Linked DNA regions of Homo sapiens: regions 1, 2 and 4 are each linked to region 3. The links are contacts of gene promoters, found by promoter capture Hi-C in human tissues and cell types (Jung and others, 2019). All regions are on one chromosome and are shown on one strand. Each heading gives the region's core, a stretch centred on a gene start or on the middle of the fragment in contact. The rest is flanking DNA. Distances are from core to core; before and after follow the strand shown. Region 1 overlaps RGS12 (regulator of G protein signaling 12). Region 2 overlaps LOC124900839. Region 3 holds the start of SH3BP2 (SH3 domain binding protein 2). Region 4 overlaps POLN (DNA polymerase nu).

Region 1 (2,967 bases), core at 135-2,634, 600 kb before region 3:
TTCTTTTTATTGCTTTTTCACTTTGTCTGATATTAATATTGTTATGCCACTTCTCTTTTTTCTTAATATTGCTTGTTATATCCTCTCATTTAGTTGTTTTCAAACTTTTGTCACTTATTGTTGTTTGTTTGTTTGTTTTCAGAAGGAGTCAAACTATATTGCCCAGGCTGGTCTCAAACTTTTGGCCTCAAGTGAGCCTCCTGCCTCAGCTTCCCAAGCATTCCCTATAATCCACAGCTAGGATTATAGGTGTGCACCACCGTGCCTGGTTCAACATCGCTTATTTTAAAATTGGGTTTTTAACAATCAAAGTGGAGAGTTTTTCTCCTCTGATGCTCTTTCTCTTGTTGATCTTGTAAGCTTCTTCAGGACCTCCTGGCTTATTTTCTCTACCCAGTCCCTCTAAATAATTTTATTCACTTCCAGTGGTCAATTATATTGAAAATGCAATTAAAATGCCATTACAAATAATGGCAGTTATCATTTATATAACTCCTTATAATGTACCAGGTATTGTCCGATGTACTTCACATATATTAAATCATTTACTTCCTGTAAGAAGTCTGTAAGTAATGGGTCCTACTATTATTCCATTTTACAGATGAGAGAAATGAGACCCACAGCTAGGAAGTAGCAGAATTAGGATGTAAACCTAAATAATTTGGCTCCAGAGGCCATACTCTTAATTGTTCTATGTCCTATTGCCTCTCAAACCACATCTTCAGCATCTTCTGGTTTCCCATGTGTCTTATGGGTTTGAGACTCGCCTTTTCTGCATGATCTATAATTACTCAAGTTTACCAAGCCAATGAGTTTCATTGAAACGCTGATGACTCCCAAATTTCTATTTTCAAGCCCAACCACTTTTCTGCATTCTGTACTCATTTATCCAACTGTCTACACAATATCTCCAGTAGATTTTGAATAAACATCTCAAAAATCCCATGTCCAAAGCAGAATTCTTGGTTATCACCCCCCTATCTGCTCCTCCCACCCTAGTCTTCCCCATCTCTGCAAACACCCTCATCCTCCGAGCTGCCTGAGGCAAAACCCTGAGGTTAGTCTTGGGACCCCTCTCACGTCGTTCCACTGCTCCTCCCATGGACATGTGCACACACGACTACTCTCTCTTGGGTTCCTCGCGACCCCCTGGCTGCCATCTCAGCTTTTTCCTGGTTCTTCCTGTCTTCCCAAACTCATATGAGGGTTAATCCTCACCCATCTGTCAGGTCTCAGCTCTGCTCGGCCATCCTGACCACAGGGTGGGCTCTGGCCCGGCCACGCACTTGCACAGCTCCTTCTTCTTCTATCGCAGCCAGTGTGGCATCCCACCACAGCCCACCTCGGCACCCAGAGGCACACAGGGGCTTCCCACTGGCTTCTCTGATGCAACCAGTCCCTTTTTTCTCAAGTCCTTGCAAGGTCTTGTGTGTCCCAGGCTGCTCCCTCACCTTCTTTCGAGCAAGAGTCTATTTGAGGGTGATGCATTAGCCTGAAATCATCTCCATTAATGCTGGTGTTAGATACTTATAGAGGTCATTCATCCAGAAGAGATGGTTTTTTAAAAGGCAAACCAAGCCAGATTTAGTATTTATTCCTGGGAGGAATGGTCTCAAGACTTTGAGAGCAAGAATGAGTAACTACATATTGAAGATCACATATGTATAATTACAGCAATTAAAAAAAAAAAACCCCAATTGTCCAAATGTCAATGGCTGCATGTGGCTTGTGATAACATTTCCAGGAAAAGCATCAACACAGATTCCAGAAATGCTATGTCTCAACCAGCTTGGACAAAAGTGAAGATGACTCTGGAAAGCTGCCAGTGACTTGAAAATTGCCTCCAAAATATATAAGGAAATGCAAGGGCCAGGAATAACCAAGGCAATCTTAAAGACAAGCAAAATGAAGACTATAGCACTAGATATCCAAATGCCAGGGACGAGAATTACGACATGAAGTCCTGATCCAATGATAGACAAACAGACCAATGGAACAGAATACAGAGGCCAGAAACAGACCCACAAATATATGATTACCTGATACAGGTGTTGCTTCAAGTTATTGGGAAGGATTGTCTTTTCATTACATGGAGCTGGGACAACTGAATACCATGTAGAAAAAATGAATCTTACCCCTACCTCACACCATAGACAAAAATACCAATTCCAGATGAATCAGAGATTTAAATATTGAAGATAAAACAAAACAGATTTACTTTCATGGTCTTGGGAAGGGCAAAGCCTGCTCTAAAGGGACATAAGCATTACCCTAAGGGGAAAAATGATAAACTGGATTATATTAAGAACTTTCAGTCATCACAAGATACCACTAAGAGAATGAACAGGTAAGGTATAGAAAGGCTTAACTACATACATAAATCTATCACAAACACATAAATCCAAAACACAAGGTATATCTAATACAGCCAGCCCTCCGCACCCACAGTTCTGCATCCACAGATTCAACCAACTGTGGATGGAAAATATTTGGGAAAATATTTGGAAAAAAAATTAATGGAAAAAAAATAACAATACAACAAAAAATACAAATAAAAACAATATAGTATAACAACTGTTTACATACCATTTACATTGTATTAGCTGTTATCAGTAATCTAGAAATGATTTAAAGTACCCAGGAAGGTATGGGTAGGTTATATGCAAACGCTACACCATTTTATATCAGGGACTCAAGTATCTGCAGATTTTGGTATCCTCAAGGGGTCTTGGAACCAATTCCCTAGAGACACTAAGGGAAAACTATACGTAAATCCACCATAAAATCATTTCCAGAATATATTTTTAAAATATTCTATAAATCAATAAGGAAAGGCAGATAACCTAACAGAAAAATAAGCAAAAGTCTTGAACAAGCACTTCACAAAATAAGATATTCAAAGGGCCAAAAATATATGAAAAGGTGATCAATTCATAGTCATCAGGGGACTGAGAACTAAAACTATTA
Region 2 (3,177 bases), core at 59-2,558, 760 kb after region 3:
GATGAAAGTGGTTTTATTCATAAGGGAGAAAGAAAGATCGGTTATGCAGTAGTTAGCCGAGAAGAAGGCATTGAGGCCAAAGCTTGACCTCCCCAGACATCTGCTCAAAAAGTGGAATTAATTGGTCTAATCAGGGTCCTCCAACTGAGAAAAGACTTAAGAGTCAACATATTTACCGATTCCAAATATGGGTGCCTGGTGCTCCACGCTCATGACGCCATATGGAAAGAAAAGGGAGCGCTAACAGCTAAGGAATCCCCCACACAGCATTGCTCTGAGATCTTGGAATTGTAGATGCTGTCCAGCTCCCAAAGGAGGTGGCAGTTACTCACTGCAGGGGACACCAAAAGGGGGACACCTCTATCATCCCGGAGGAAATGCCCTGATGGACAGGACAGCCAAGGCCACAGGTGAAGAACACCAGTGCTCCAGGCCACGGACTAATGCCAGGTACTGCACCCATGCCAGCAGCACCCTACTGTACTCCTGAGGAAAGTAAATGGGCAGAACAGATGGGCTTACAAGGCCAGGCGTGGTGGCTCACACTTGTAATCCCAGCACTTTGGGAGGCTGAGGTGGGTGGATCATGAGTTCAGGAGTTCGAGACCAGCCTAGCTAACACAGTAAAACCCTATCTCTACTAAAAATAGAAAAAAAAATTAGCCAGGTGTGGTGATGCATGCCTGTAATCCTGGATACTCGAGAGGCTGAGGGAGGAGAGTCATTTGAACCTGGGAGGCAGTTTTCCCTGGCCAGTGCTAGGGAGATTGTGAGGTTTGGACTGGGCAGAATTCCCCACAGCGCAGCACAGCAGCTGTGGCAGATTGTGGCCAGACTGCCTCTTTAACTGGGAACCAGACCCATCCCTTCTCACCCGAGCAGTGCCTCCCTGCAGGAGTTCCAGCAACTCCAGCCAGGGGTTTACGGACAGAACTTTCATCTCCCCAGGTCAGAGCACCTGGGGAGAGTGGTGGCCGCAGTCTCAGGTTGGACAGACTTAATCTTTCCTGCTTGCTGGCTCCCAAGAGTCCCAGTGACCTGGATGAGGGGGCATTCCCCCCAGCGCAGTGCACCCACACTGGTAAGGGGCAGCCAGACTGCTTCCTTAAGCAGGTCCCTGATCACATGCCTCCTGACTGGGTGAGACCTCCCAACAGGGGCCACCAGACACTTCATTCAGGAGAGCTGCAGCTGGCATCAGGTCGGTGCCCCTCTGAGACAAAGCTTCCAGAGGAAGGAGCAGGCAGCAATCTTTGCTGTTCTGCAGCCTTCACTGGTGATACCCAGGCAAACAGGGTATGGAGTGGACCTCCAGCAAATTGCAGCCGACCTGCAGAAGAGGGGCCTGACTGTTAAAAGAAAAACAGCCAGGCGCAGTGGCTCACGCCTGTAATCCCAGCACTTTGGGAGGCTGAGGAGGGTGGATCACAAGGTCAGGAGTTCGAGACCAGCCTGGCCAATATGGTGAAACCCTGTCTCTACTAAAAATACAAAAATTAGCCAGGCGTGGTGGTGGGCGCCTGTAGTTCCAGCTACTTGGGAGGCTGCAGGAGAATCGCTTGAACCTGGAAGGTGGATGTTGCAGTGAGGGAGCCAAGATCGCGCCACTGCACTCCAGCCTGGGTGACAGAGCGAGACTCCATCTCAAAAAAAACGAAAAAAAAGAAAATAAAAGAAAAACAAACAGAAAGCAACAACAACAACATCAACAAAAAAGACCCCACAAAAACCCCATCTAAAGGTCAACAGCCTCAAAGAGGAAAGGTAGATAAATCCACAATGAGGAAAAACCAACGCAAAAATGCTGAAAATTCCAAAAGCCAGAATGCCTCTTCTCCTTCAAATGATCAAAACACCTCTCCGGCAAGGGCACAGGAGTGGGCTGAAGCTGAGATGGATGAACTGACAGAAGTACGCTTCAGAAAGTGGGTAATAATATACTTCACTGAGCTAAAGGATTATGTTTTAACCCAATGCAAAGAAGCTAAGAACCACGATAAAACATTACAGATGGTGTTAACTGGAATAACCAGTTTAGAGAGAAACATAAATGACCCGACGGAGCTGAAAAATACAGCACAAGAACTTCATGATGCAAACACAAGTATCAACAGCCAAATCAACCAAACAGAAGAAAGAATATCAGAGCTTGAAGACTGTCTTGCTGAAATAAGGCAGGCAGACAAGATTAGAGAAAAAATAATGAAAAGGAATGAACAAAACCTCCGAGAACTATTGGACTATGTAAAAAGATTGAACCTACAACTGATTGGAGTACCTGAAAGAGACGGGGAGAATGGAGCCAAGTTGGAAAACACACTTCAGGTTATCCTCCAGGAGAACTTCCCCAACTTAGCAGGACAGGCCAACGTTCAAATCCAGGAAATCCAGAGAACTCCAATAAGATACTCCATGAGAAGGTCAACCCTAAGGCACATAATCATCAGATTCTCTAAGGTTAAAATGAAGTAAAAAATGTTAAGGGCAGCCAGAGAGAAAGGCCAGGTCACCTACAAAGGGAAGCCCATCAGACTAACAGTGGACATCTCAGTGGAAACCCTACAAGCCAGAAGAGATTGGGGGCCAATATTCAACATTCTTTTTTTTTTTTTTTTTGAGACGGAGTCTTGCTCTGTCGCCTGGCTGGAGTGCAGTGGCGCAATCTCAGCTCACTACAAGCCTCTCAAGTAGCTGAGATTATAGGCACATGCCACCACGGCCGGATAATTTTTTGTATTTTAGTAGAGATGGGGTTTCACCATGTTGGCCAAGATGATCTTGATCTCCTGACCTCGTGATCCACCCACCATGGCCTCCCAAAGTGCTGTGAGCCACCGCGCCTGGCCAATATTCAACGTTCTTAAAGAATTTCCAGGCCAGGTGCAGTAGCTCACACCTGTAATCCCAGCACTTTGGGAGGCCAAGGTGGGTGGATCACAAGGTCAGGAGTTCAAGAACAGCATGGCCAACATGGTGAAACCCTGTCTCTACTAAAAATACAAAAATTAGCTGGACAGGGTGGTGCGTGCCTGTAATCCCAGCTGCCTGGGAGGCTGAGGCAGGAGAACTGGTTGAACCGGGACTCAGGAGGCAGAGGTTGCAGTGAGCCGAGATCATGCCACTGCACTCCAGCCTGGGCTACAGAGCGAGACTCCATCTCAAAAAAAAAAAAAAGAA
Region 3 (2,954 bases), core at 95-2,594:
GTTGGGCTCCAAGAGGGCCCTTCGACGGTGTCTACGTAGAGGAGACAGTGGACAGAGTGGGAAGAACCAGGAGGGGGTGGAGCCCAGCCCCTCCTCTGGTCCCACAGGGCCTGAGCCAGTGAGGGCAGGAGCTTGTCCAGGCTCATGGAGTTGGTGCAGGGCTGACCTGAACCCAGAGGCTTGCTTCGGCAAGGAGGAGGCTGTGGGCCCTGCCTTCAGGCGGTTGTGGAAACAATTCTACACATTGCATCACCGGCCCATGTCACCTGCAAGGCCACACACATGTCATCCAGGCAGGCTGTCCACCCCAGCAGCCCACACGGAGTACCCGCCCCTGGCCACAGCCAATTCGAAGGACTTAAGTGTGGCCACTAGACCAGGAGGCACAGCTGTCCCCAGTGTCAACAGATGAGCAAACTGAGGCACAGAGAGGGGATAGGAGGTGCTCACGGAAAGGAGCACCAGCAGAAGGCTCCCCACAGCAGGGCTCAGGCCCTCAATACCCCCAGGGAGCCGAGGCCCAGAGCAGCGGGAAAGTGCTGGGCTGCAGGGAGGCCAGCGTACAGGTGGAAGGGGCTGTCCCCGCCCCCTAACTCCTCCAGTCCCTCTGCCACCCCTGAGATTCCCTGTTGCCCATGAGAGTCTCAGACGCCCGGCTATCAGTCACTCACACTTCAGTGTGAATCAGCGCCAGTGGGCGGCTTTTCTTGCCCTCCGTGAAGCGCGGCCGCTGCAGAGGGAAGTTTGGATTCCGGGAAGGGCGGAGAGCGAGTGCCCGCCGCAGCCTTTGAGTCTTGTGGGGAGGGTCGCGTAAAGGGGCCCCGCCGCGGGGCCAGAGGGGCGCGAGGGGTGCGAAACAGACGCGTCGCACCGCCTCCCACCCCTGAGCCCCCGGCAAGGGACACCCGGCCCCCGCCCCGAAGCCGCGCTCCCTCGGGCACTGCCCGCCGTGCCCAGGCCCCGTGCGTCCTTTGGCAAGGACACGGAGGCCCCGGGGCCCGGGGGAGGCTGCTGCGCACCCGAGACCCCCGACACCCGCCCATACCTGCCGGGACCCTGAGACTCCCCCGAGACCTGCCAAGACCTGCCGGGACCCCTGAGACTCCCCGGAGACTCCCCCGAGACCCCCGAGACCCGCCGAGACCTGTCGGGACCCCGAGACTCCCCCGAGACCCCCGAGACCCGCCGAGAGCCCCCAGACCGCCAAGGCCCGCCGAGCCCCTTCCAGACGCGGAGACCGCCCCCCCGCGAGACCCCCGAGACCCGCCGAGACCCGCCGCCGAGGCTTACCCGCCGAGCGCTCTCCTGGCCCGCGGGCCCTGGGTCGAGGCGGCGGCTTGACTCGGCCGCCAGGCGCTCCCGCCCGCGGGACCCGCCGCCGCCGCAGCTCCGTCCCGCCCGCGCCCGCCCAGTCCGCCCTCCTCCTGGCCCCGCCCCGGCCCCGCCCCTCCCCGGCGGGTCCCGCAATCCTGGAGGTCCGAGCTGGGCGTGGGGCGGGGCCGGTACCTCAGGGTGGGCGGGGAACTGCACGTGGCCTCCGCGGCCCCGGGACGAGGCCCCTGGGGGGCGAAGACTGGCGTTGTCGCGGGCCTAGACGCCGGGTCCACAGTAGGTGCTTAGTTCTCGCCCGTGAGTGAGGTAGCGTGTCTGTCCCTCCTGCGTGTCCCTCCCAGTGACACCCCAGTGCCCAGCGACCCAGGTGGAAAGGGCGCTGTCCACCCCCCCAGCCCCGTGGTCCTGATCCTGGGCGGCCCCACCCCTGCCCCGTGAGTGCGACTTAGGCCCTGGCCAAGACAGGAGCAGGGGAGGTGGGGGAGGGCTTGCTGGGCACCAGGAAACCTTGTCTTTGTTTCCAAATGTCCTCCAGGGTACTTTTCAGGCACTTCCCAGGGGGACCTCGCCTCTTGGACCAGGTCTGGACTCCGGTGGCCCAGAGGTCGTCTTGGGGCTGGGAGGCACAGGAGACCGGGTGCTTTACACTTGGCCTCCTCTGAGGCTCCCTTTCCTCCACCATCACCCTCTCCCTAAGAGTAGGCCCAGATGCCTTGGTGTAAGGGCAGGGGCGAGAAGAGGAGGGGCTTCCTGGGAGGAAATGGCTTCCCTGGGGAGCTCTCAGGGCCAGGTAGGTGGAGGGAGCCGTGGAGAAAGTGAAGAGGCTGGGGAGACCAAGCTGGGCCTGCAGAGCTTGAGGGCGAGCGGACCCCCCACCAGTGCGGGAGTCAACTGCTTGGGGCGTGGGGGGACTCCTCCCCATGAGGAGTGGGGACTGGACCCCAGGTCCCAGAGCCCAGGAAGCTGTGAGTAGAGGAAGGACAGGATCTTGCTGGGAACCCAAGGGAGCTGGGGGTGGGTGGTGGTGACCTGGCCCTGTCCAGGCAGGCGGCCAAGGTCTGACCCTCTGTACTGAGCACAAGAGGCCAGAGTCCAATGACAGGGGCTGAATTGGCTGCTCCAAATCAGGCAGGGGCAGGGGTGTCCAGGGCTGGCCCTGCAGCAGGTGAAGGACTGGGTTTGGGTCCTACAGGTTGAAATACCTGAGGGCCTCCAGGAGACACAGCCAAACCAAGCGGGTTCTCAGGGTTGCAGCTGGACCGAGTGTGGGCCAAGTCACCGTCCACCTGTCCCAGAGCTGCCCAATAATGGGTCCCAAGCCTCAGAAAGGGGATCCCTGGCTGCAATAGCCCTCCTCCCTGCTGGAGAGACACACTTGGGATCAGAGAGGTTAACTGGGGAGGGGAGTAAGTGGGAGGAGTCAGAAAACTAGGTGGCCAGGCCCTGAGCCCAGGCATAGAGGAAGAGCCAGTGCCTACCAGGAAGTGACCAGGACCAAGGCAGGGCCTCTGGAAGGGAAGGGACAAAGCAGGGGATGGCAGAGGCAGGGGAGGATATGGGAGAGTCTTCAGACAACAGGGCCCCTTTTCCCCATCTGTGAAATGGAGGGGGTCCTCTACTGG
Region 4 (2,784 bases), core at 63-2,562, 580 kb after region 3:
AGTCAGCTCCATCACCCAAGTTTCACAGAGTGTTTGATCCACAGGATCCTGCGCTCAGCCAAGGAACTGCAGCAGTGGGCACATGAGAGTAGGACTCACTGTCTCCCTCACAGCCACACACCAAGAAGCTGCCAGCCTGATGGAGCAGCAGGATGGTCTGTGGAAGGCACAGCTCACCTCGTGTGCAGCCTGGAGGTGACACCTGTGATGAAGCAGTCACCTCCAGGGTGCAGTCTGCACTGCAAATCACTAACCAGTACGTGGTGCAGTGTCCTTGGTTTGTGTAATAAATGGGTCTGGGAACCAAAAGGTGAAAGTCATCACTCCCAGTGACCCACTTAGAAATCTGTATTTCTCCCTCACACTCCTCTGGGTTCTTAAGGTTTAAAGGTCTTGACTCTCAAAGGGAAAACCTTTCCAGCAGGGGCACAGGAAGAACGCCATTTAATTTCCAGCTGTGGCTGCTGTCTGGTCATTTTGAGCTCCTTGTGCCAAGAGACTGGCTGGCAAGGAATGTAATTTCCATCTTCTGGGGTGGCTGACCGTGGGCGTCAGGTGGAGGTAGAGCTGTTACTACATAACTGGGGGCAGGGAAGCACCCAGGTGATGTGATTGGCCACCTCATGGTCCCCTGCCCAAATTTGATGGCAAATGCTGGGGCTATGGCCAGAGAAGGGCATGGTGGCCAGGGGCTTACCTCTCAGGGATGAGGGTTTGGGTTACCTGATCAGGTAAGCTAAGCCACCTAGAGCAGCAGAGGAGATAGGCAAGGGTGAGGAGTTAGCATGGGCAGTAGAGGAGGGAGATGAATGTAATTTGCAACCTTGAGGCCAGCTGCAGCAAGATGTAGTTCATCCCAGTGCCTTCCTTTTATAAATTTCCCAAGGAAAAGGCCCGCCAGAATCCTACAGGAGCTGCTCCCAGAACGTCCCTGAAGCAAGTGGCTATGAGCAGTGCAGTGTGGAGTGTAGCAAGCACTGTGGTTCCCATATGCCCCTTTAGTACTGAAGCACTGTCCCTGCTCCTGGGACAGCCCCTCCCTGATTGCCTGGCTGCAAAGAACTTCTTTGCCCAAGGGCCCACCCCTTCCCCAGGAGTGACTGGTCCAGTGACTAGTTTGTGCAGGGGTATAAAAGCCCAGCTGTCTTGACCCATTGGGAGACACATCTGTAGGACCATGCTCAGCTCAGGGCAGGCCTTTGAGTGACTGCATCTTAGCCATTGTCTTCCTTGGTTGGATTCTGCTTCCTTCACTCTCCAATCACCTTTTCAAATGCAAACCTTCATCACAGAGGTGGTCTCCCAGGGTACCCGAGTGTTATGTGCGTAACATCTTCGTGTGCATAAGCGGGGAGATTTGGTCATTATTTTTAAAAATGAGGTCATCATCTTCAGTCAACCACTATAGCTGGAGTCATTTTCCCCCCTGCAATCTATGTTTTAACAAGGTCATTCTTTTTAGTGGCTATGTATTTCATGATGTGGATATTATGTAATTTATTCCTCAGTTTTCTTCTGATTGGTATCTACTTTATTTTCAGTCCTTTGCCATAATGAGCAATACTGCTATAAACATTTTGGTTTAAACCTGTTTACTGTTGCATATATTTCTGTGAAACAGCCAAGAGTGAGATTATTTGGTTAGAGATTATTTGGTTAGATGATGGATATTATTTCCTATCTGTTTTTGTTAAGGCAAGAGCACTCTGTCTCTCATATATATATGGCTGAGGTATATACATATATATGTATATGTATATACATATATATGTATATGTATGTGTATATGTGTGTGTGTATATATATAAAACAGCACACATATCCTAAGTTTAGTTTAGGTCAAAATTTCACAAACCCAAACCCAGTTCAGGAAACATAACTAGCATTCCCAGAGGCCCATCTTGAGCTCCCTGTGGGTCACTTTCTCCACCCAACTCCCAAAGTGATGTATGCATTATTAATTTTAATAAGTCTTGACAGTTTGCCTTCTAGAAAGAGTCTATTTACATTTTTACCAGCAATACATGAGACTACCTCTTCCCCTGTGTTTCCAGTTATAGTTAATTTGCGTTTCCCTGAGTATTGTATTTGTTTCCTCTTTGGGTTTTCTGTTTTGTGTATTGCCTCTTCCTATTCTTTGCTCATTTTTCTGTTGAATTGTTTGTCTTATCTTGTAAATGTATGAGAACTTGTTGTATAATATAGCAGTTAACCCTTTGTCATTTTTGTTCCAAATAGTTTTCCCAATGCATTTATTTTCTTTTTGATGTGGTGCTAGTTATACCAGCCCTATTAATTAATCTATCCTTTTCTATTGAATTGAAATACTATCTTTGTTGTATATAAAGTCTTGGGATCAGTCTCTGGGTTGTCTGTTCTCTTCTAGAGGTCTTTTCTCTCTCTCTTTTTTAAGCTTACTTTTTTTTTTCCCAGGACAGAGTCTTGCCCTGTAACCCAGGCTGGAGTGCAGTGGCGCAATCTCGGCTCACTGCAACCTCCACCTCCCGGGTTCAAGCAATTCTCCTGCCTCAGCCTCCCAAGTAGATGGGATTGCAGGTGCTTGCCACCACACCTGGCTAATTTTTGTATTTTTAGTAGAGGTGGGGTTTCACCATTTTGGCCAAGCTGGTCTCGAGCTCCTGACCTGAGGTGATCCACCCACCTCAGCCTCCCAAAGTGCTGGGATCACAGGCGTGAGTCACCACGCCCGGCCTAAGCTTACATTTCTTGTCTTTTCGTACTTTGAAATTATTTTATTAAATTAAAATATCCCTGTAGGGTCTC

What was found. Contacts are between HindIII fragments. The study calls those that stand out against the background at their distance.
Region 1: a contact is called between a fragment that was not itself captured here and the fragment with the promoter of SH3BP2 in region 3, in 1 of the 25 tissues and cell types used here (H1 embryonic stem cells).
Region 2: a contact is called between a fragment that was not itself captured here and the fragment with the promoter of SH3BP2 in region 3, in 1 of the 25 tissues and cell types used here (dorsolateral prefrontal cortex).
Region 4: a fragment that was not itself captured here is called in contact with the fragment with the promoter of SH3BP2 in region 3 in 2 of the 25 tissues and cell types used here (lymphoblastoid cells and pancreas).

The regions. Positions count from the first base shown.
Region 1 is chr4:3,395,639-3,398,605 of GRCh38, reverse strand. The region is part of intron 4 of RGS12 (regulator of G protein signaling 12); the gene reads right to left. Among named protein-coding and RNA genes, the nearest start is that of HGFAC, 45 kb to the left of the region's middle. The HindIII fragment of the contact is 3,930 bases long and covers 1-2,967 here.
Region 2 is chr4:2,031,640-2,034,816 of GRCh38, reverse strand. All of the region lies in intron 1 of LOC124900839, which reads left to right. Among named protein-coding and RNA genes, the nearest start is that of NICOL1, 8.8 kb to the left of the region's middle. The HindIII fragment of the contact is 6,531 bases long and covers 1-3,177 here.
Region 3 is chr4:2,791,475-2,794,428 of GRCh38, reverse strand. It overlaps SH3BP2 (SH3 domain binding protein 2), which reads right to left and starts at 1,344. Exons shown (of 13, transcript NM_001122681.2): 1 at 1,291-1,344. RefSeq lists a silencer at 1,277-1,626. The HindIII fragment of the contact is 44,064 bases long and covers 1-2,954 here.
Region 4 is chr4:2,213,883-2,216,666 of GRCh38, reverse strand. All of the region lies in intron 3 of POLN (DNA polymerase nu), which reads left to right. Among named protein-coding and RNA genes, the nearest start is that of HAUS3, 27 kb to the left of the region's middle. RefSeq lists a silencer at 891-1,185. The HindIII fragment of the contact is 4,456 bases long and covers 1-2,784 here.